Linked DNA regions of Homo sapiens: region 2 is linked to region 1. Evidence: promoter capture Hi-C in human tissues and cell types (Jung and others, 2019). All regions are on one chromosome and are shown on one strand. Each heading gives the region's core, a stretch centred on a gene start or on the middle of the fragment in contact. The rest is flanking DNA. Distances are from core to core; before and after follow the strand shown.

Region 1 (3,065 bases), core at 196-2,695:
CGGCAACATCTGAAATAGCTACTCGCCCTGAATAGGCAGGTGGAGAATATTAGTTACACGTGGGACAAATCCCATTATGAGACATATCATCACAACAAGAATATTTCATTCTAGATTTTAGAATCCCAGGTTTTGGCTCACTTTGGTCAAGAAAAATTATAAATAATTGAGTTACAGATAATTAAATGTTAGCCTCCTGGAGTGCATGGCAATTGGTTTTGACCTCTATATTAAAATTCACAAGACCACGGACATAAGTCAAAACAGGTCCCCTTCGTCTCCCTAGTCACCATCTCCAGGGCTAAAAAACAGACTTGAAATGGGTGGCAGTTAGACTACAGGAAACAGGATCTACAAGCACCAGGAGCTCATCTATGGCTATCTGACATCGCCTGGGGACACCTCACTCTCTGGCAGGCTCCTGCTGGCTGGAGATTGTTAACATCGCCAATCAGATGTTAATTGAATGCAAAGGAATAGGAAATAAATTCTGGTTCTGAAGGGGCAGCTGGAAAGGTGTTGGGCTTCTCAGATTCCAACCTACATTACAAAGCAGGCCTAAAGCCAAGCATACTCCTTGCCAGAAGAAACGGAAAGCCCCTCTCCCGTTTTTAGAATCAGGCTGGAAAACACGGCTCCCAGAAGGTGGGGTTAGAAAACAAGAGCTTGCGAGGCGGCGCCCTGTGGTCCCTCGAGGAAATAGTAGAGAGACAAAGAGGGCCTGCTCCTGGGAAGCCCTAAATTCGAAGCCAATCCTTCCTCCTAGACATGACCACAACTTTAAAGGGCAGGGCGCACACCTCCCCTCCCGGATCTCTAGGACAAAGGCAGGTCGAGGGTAAATATTTCTAGTTATTCAGTATATTCAGTGGCTAACTATTTATTTTGTGGGTACCAGACACCGACATAATCGGTTACGTCCTTCCCTTAATTCTCATAATTCTGAGGTTTGTGTTATTAACCCCCTATTATCTTTGGTCTACCCAGGGCAGCCAAAGAGGCGCAGAGAAGAATGACAAGGTGCCCAGCAAGCGGCAGGATCAAAGCCTGGGTCTCTAATTCCCAGGCTGGAGATTCTGGGCTGCCTGCTCCTCCTGCACGGGGCGAAAAGCCCACCTGGGATCCGAGCGGGCGGCCGCGCCACTCTCGCAGGCTCCATACACCCGCCACTACCCGCCTGTACCACCTGCAGCCGGCAGCGCAGCCTCCTCGCGGGTCCCGCAGGGCGCGCTGCAGGTGCGCTGGGCGTCCCGAAGCCCCGCCCTCGCGTCCCTGCCCCGCGCCCAGCTCCTCACGCTCGGTGCCCGCGCCCCGCAGCGGCAGCGCAGAACGCACCGCCTCTGCCAGAGCCCGGGAAGCGCTCGGGCGAAGAGGAGGAGCCAAGGGTACCGAGCGGGTGGAGTCGGGAGCCGGAGAGCGGTGGAGGCGGATTTCCTGGGCCCGGCCCTCTGGCGCTACCATGGCGTTTGGCAAGAGTCACCGGGATCCCTACGCGACCTCCGTGGGCCACCTCATAGGTAAGGAGGCGCGGGGAGAGACGCCCAGGCAGGCAGGGGACCGTGGGATCCTTTCCTGCTTGATCCATTCTCGGCCTGCAGAGGACGGAGTTAGTCCAACTTGAAAAAATTATTCCCCTCCCCCCGCAACTTTCCCAAGGCACCCGCATTCCACCCGGCCCCCTTTCGTCGTTTCCTTCTTGGCCAACTCACTGTAGAACCTCAGTCCTCAAAAATGTACCTTCCTTTCGATGCCGCCTGGGGAGTGGAACCAAACAGGTGAACCGCGGGAGTCAGGCATGGAGTGTTTGGGCCTCCACGAGGAGACACCAGAAACTTCTCGGTAGGGGAAGTTATTCCTAAAGGCACATTCTCCAGGGCACGGTATTGTTATGCCCGTTTTACAGATCAGAAGAGGAGGCTCTGGGAGACTAAGTGATGTGGCCTTACTGTGAGGGGCAGGTCTCCCCAAACCAGTTTTCTCTAGTGCCAAGCTTATACAACCTGGATTACTTTTCTGGGTAAACAAAGAGAATGAAAATGCTTGGCATTGGAGTGAAGAGGAGGGGAACATAGGAGCCATCTGGGGCCACGGAGGTCTCTCGCAGGCCACTAGGGACTACACCAGCATCCACCTAAATGATTTCTCTCTCCTCCGGATGTACCTTGCATGATGTATGTAGAAGCCAGTGATTGGACTCCTACCAGCACCAGCTCACTGCTCCTTCTTTTCCCTGATTCCTCCCTTGGGAATTGGGTGTGGCACGAGTGCATATTAATGCCAGGCAAAGTGTGATGATGTCAGGAACTTAGTGGGGTGATGAAATCGTGAGAACCTAGTAGTTGTAGTAAAGAGGCCCAGATTTGGAAAATTTAGATCACAGCTCTACTAACTGCTGTGACACCGAACACACCACTTAAACAGAACCTTAGTTTACACATCCTTATAAGATGGTCAGAGTAGCTACCATTGAGGAGATGCTTTCCCTTAATGGCTGTGCTTTTTTGGATATTAGAATGAACCCCAAGCAGAAATGGATTCAGACTGTGTCTTCATAGGCAAACGAAACTTCAGCAGTTCTTCTGCTTAATTTTTTAATTCTGTAAACATGGACTAACTGTCAGCTATGTGCCTGGACCTGGATCAGGCACTGGTGAGGCCAAGGTGAGACGTGGTCTCAAACCTGAGGGAACTCACTTTCTTGTAGAGAAGACGGGCACAGTTTTGTGTGGCACCTTTGCAATGCAAGAAAATGCAAAACACACAAAACTTAGGAGAAGGGAGAAATGAATTCTGCGTGGCTTTTGAAGGGTGAATAGGAGTTTTCTTTTCTAGGGAGGTAAGCTTTGTCCATTCGGTGCCAGATTCAAGTTTTTTGTTGTTGTTGTTTTGTTTTTGTTTTTGTTTTTGTTTTGAGACGGGGAGTGACACCCAGGCTGGAGTGCAGTAGCTCTCGGCACACTGCAACCTCCGCCTACCGGGTTCAAGCACTTCTCCTTCCTCAGCCTCCCGAGTAGCTGGGACTACAGGCACATGCCACCACGCCAGGCTAATTTTTGTATTTTTAG
Region 2 (2,974 bases), core at 383-2,882, 1.5 Mb before region 1:
TTTTGTAAGTCATATCCACTCCCCATCCCAGGTTTATTAAGCCAAAATTTCTGGGAGTGATTGAAAGGTGCTGTCAGTGGCACAGCCCATGTTATTAGCCAGTTTCAGATCCCACAAACAAAAAGCAGTTCATGAAGTTGCCTGTATGCCTATACTGTTTCCTTTTTATTAGTAATAGGCTTTATATAATTTGTATACCAAAATTTGTACCTAGTGACTCTCTGTTATTTTATGCCTCCTATTAGAGAACAAGATTATTCTTAAAAAGTAAGGCTTAGTTTTTTGATATTTGAATCTGATTTCTATTTCCAAGCCTACTTTCCCAATTTTAAGGAAACATAGAACTTTATCTCTGCCTAATATGAAACATCCTTAAAACATGCCTCTTTTCCATCTTGGCTCAATCAATCACTTTTAATAAAACGCCGATGCGGGCAAAGACCTTCCCAGAAATACACTGAATAGAACGATCATCCAGGAAATGCTTTCTTTGACAAAGCAGATTCAAGACTTCTTTTTGGCTAGGAGAATAAAGACAGAAGAATGTTCCTGGCCTTTAATTGGTTCACAACCACTTTGTAGCATCTAATCCCAAAGCTCTGACTTTGCTCTAGTTTGTAGATATACAAAATAATTTATTATAATTTTTATACTTCCTTAAGGATTTTTAAAATTTGCATGTGGCCCTTTTTAATTAGACACTTTTGTATAATATCCATTTTGTGCTCTGTAACTTATTAATGTAACATAAAACAAAACTGAATCTACATATTAGACATGTATTTCTCAATTATTATATTTCAATTTAAATACCACTGAAATCCTTAATTCTATCATGAGTCACACTTTTAATGTCTCATGCTGTTATAGATTTTACAAAGATCAGACATTTTAATTTTTTTCCTAAGATTTCCTGTGCACCTCAGGTGATAAATATAAGAGTAAGCAGATGAGAATGGAAGCAGTAATCAAGCGGTGATTCTCCATCATAGCTGTGCATTCCAGATCCTCCTCACCCCCACCTCCACCCCTCCCACATGGGAAAGCTTTTGAATTTACCATTGCTTAATCTTGCCTCATCTCAGATTAAATATGTCTTGGATGAGTCCCAGGCAAGTTTGTTTCACAAGTTCATTCCAGCTGATTCTAACGTGCATCAGTTTAGGAATCCCTGAAATAGACCAAGATTTCTAATAGTAATATAGGAGGAGGAAGGGGAAATACACAGAAAAATAGCTGGCATAGGGTTAGGTGCATAAGAACTGAAACACCTGGTGAGGAGGAACACAGACTAGAGTACCGAAAGCATAATTATGGTGTTTAAAAAAACGTCATTGTGATTTTGATAGAGAGCGAAGTTCTATAGGATACCATCAGATATGGACAGCAAATGGTCAAGAGGATTAAGGAATGAGCTTCCTAGATTGAAAGCATAGACAACCCCAGGAAATAAATAGTCATTAAAAAGATTAAGGAACATAGTCATATTTCACAGAACATATGGAAAGACTTTCAAATAGCTTGGGTTAAAAAGCCAGTCAGATGGCTATTTATAGAGAAATAATTAGTGAGAGAGACTACACAAGTCAGAGATTAGAAATCAGTTATTTAGGTTTGATATGCAGCCCTATTTAGAATAAAAGTGCAATTGATTTGGTAGAACTTTAAATAATTTGCTACAGTAAGTACTAAAGAACTGAAAGTAAACTGTTCAAGCCATCTAGATAAAGTCATAGGGCCTTGAAAGCCTTAATTCTAACACAGTTGATTTGAAAGTGGGAGATGTTCATTCTACAATACATTTCTTATAAATATAAAGCATAGAACCTCCAAAATCTTCTCCGCCCTCACAATGTATTTGGTTCTTCATTTAAAACTGGAAAAGCCACTGGGGATAAACAAAATAAAATAAATGACCGAAACCTCTAGAAATATGAGAAAAAGTTTCCTGCAAGGGGGCATTTAATCTGGTGACCTGAATTCTCTGTACTAGGGGTTAAAACACCTGCTTATGCTTCTTTTTCTCTTAAACAACACAAAACACCAATACTGATTTATTACTATACTAGCTGTAATTCTTGTTAAAAGAAAAGCCTTAGACAAATGTAATTTAACAGAGTTTAGCTGAGCAAAGAACATTTGGTAAATCAGATAGCCTGAACCAGAAGAGGTTCAGAGAGGTTACCCTGAAGCTTCATAGTAGAAGATTATTTATGGACAGAAAAACGAAAGTGATGAGCAAAAAATGGAAGTGGTTACAGAAATGGCTGGATTGTTCACTTTTGCTATGCTTTAGCATGGAGCTTGGTTAGACTGTGCCCCTGCCCGTCAGGTCTGTGGAACATTGAACTTGAGAATGATGATTTAGGGTACGTGGTAGAGAAAATATCTAAGCAGCAAAACATTCAAGATTTGGCCCTGCTGCTTCTAACAGCAAATGCTCATGTGTGTGAACAAAGAAATGACCTTAAACGGGAATTTACATTTAAAAAAATTGCAGACTGGCTCTGTGATAGTAAAGAAAAGCCTGTTTTCTTGGAAGGAATTCAAGCAAGCTGCAGAAATTTGCATAGCTAAAAGGAAGGTAAGCACTGATAGCCAAGACAATGGGAAAAAAGGCCAAGATGGCATTTTAGAGAAGTTCCTTGCACCCTCTCCCATCACAGGCCTAAAGGCCTAGGAGGAAAGTATAGTTTCATGGGCCAGGCCTAGGGTCTGCTGCTCTGCACACCTCAGGACACTGCTCCCCATATCCCAGCTTCTCCAGATCCAGTTATGGCTCAAAGGGAACCAGATATAGCTCAGGCTACTGCTTCAGAGAGTGTAAGCCATAAGCCTTGGCAGCTTTCATGTGGTATAAGGCCTGTAGGTACACAGAGTGCAAGAGTTGAGGCTTGGGATCCTCTGCCTAGATTTCAGAGAATGTTTGGAAAAGCCTGGCTGTCCAGGAAGAAGCTTGCTGAAGGAGGGAGCC

Evidence for each region. Contacts are between HindIII fragments. The study calls those that stand out against the background at their distance.
Region 2: a fragment that was not itself captured here is called in contact with the fragment with the promoter of TOM1L1 in region 1 in 1 of the 25 tissues and cell types used here (dorsolateral prefrontal cortex).

What each region holds. Positions count from the first base shown.
Region 1 is chr17:54,899,407-54,902,471 of GRCh38, forward strand. It overlaps TOM1L1 (target of myb1 like 1 membrane trafficking protein), which reads left to right and starts at 1,446. Exons shown (of 16, transcript NM_005486.3): 1 at 1,446-1,517. The coding sequence starts at 1,460. LOC124904033 (a long non-coding RNA gene) reads right to left here and starts at 1,331. Exons shown (of 2, transcript XR_007065854.1): 1 at 1-1,331. RefSeq lists a silencer at 1,121-1,460 and enhancers at 1,541-1,650, 1,671-1,760. The HindIII fragment of the contact is 7,312 bases long and covers 1-2,415 here.
Region 2 is chr17:53,425,602-53,428,575 of GRCh38, forward strand. No RefSeq gene overlaps it. Among named protein-coding and RNA genes, the nearest start is that of KIF2B, 400 kb to the right of the region's middle. The HindIII fragment of the contact is 3,801 bases long and covers 1-2,974 here.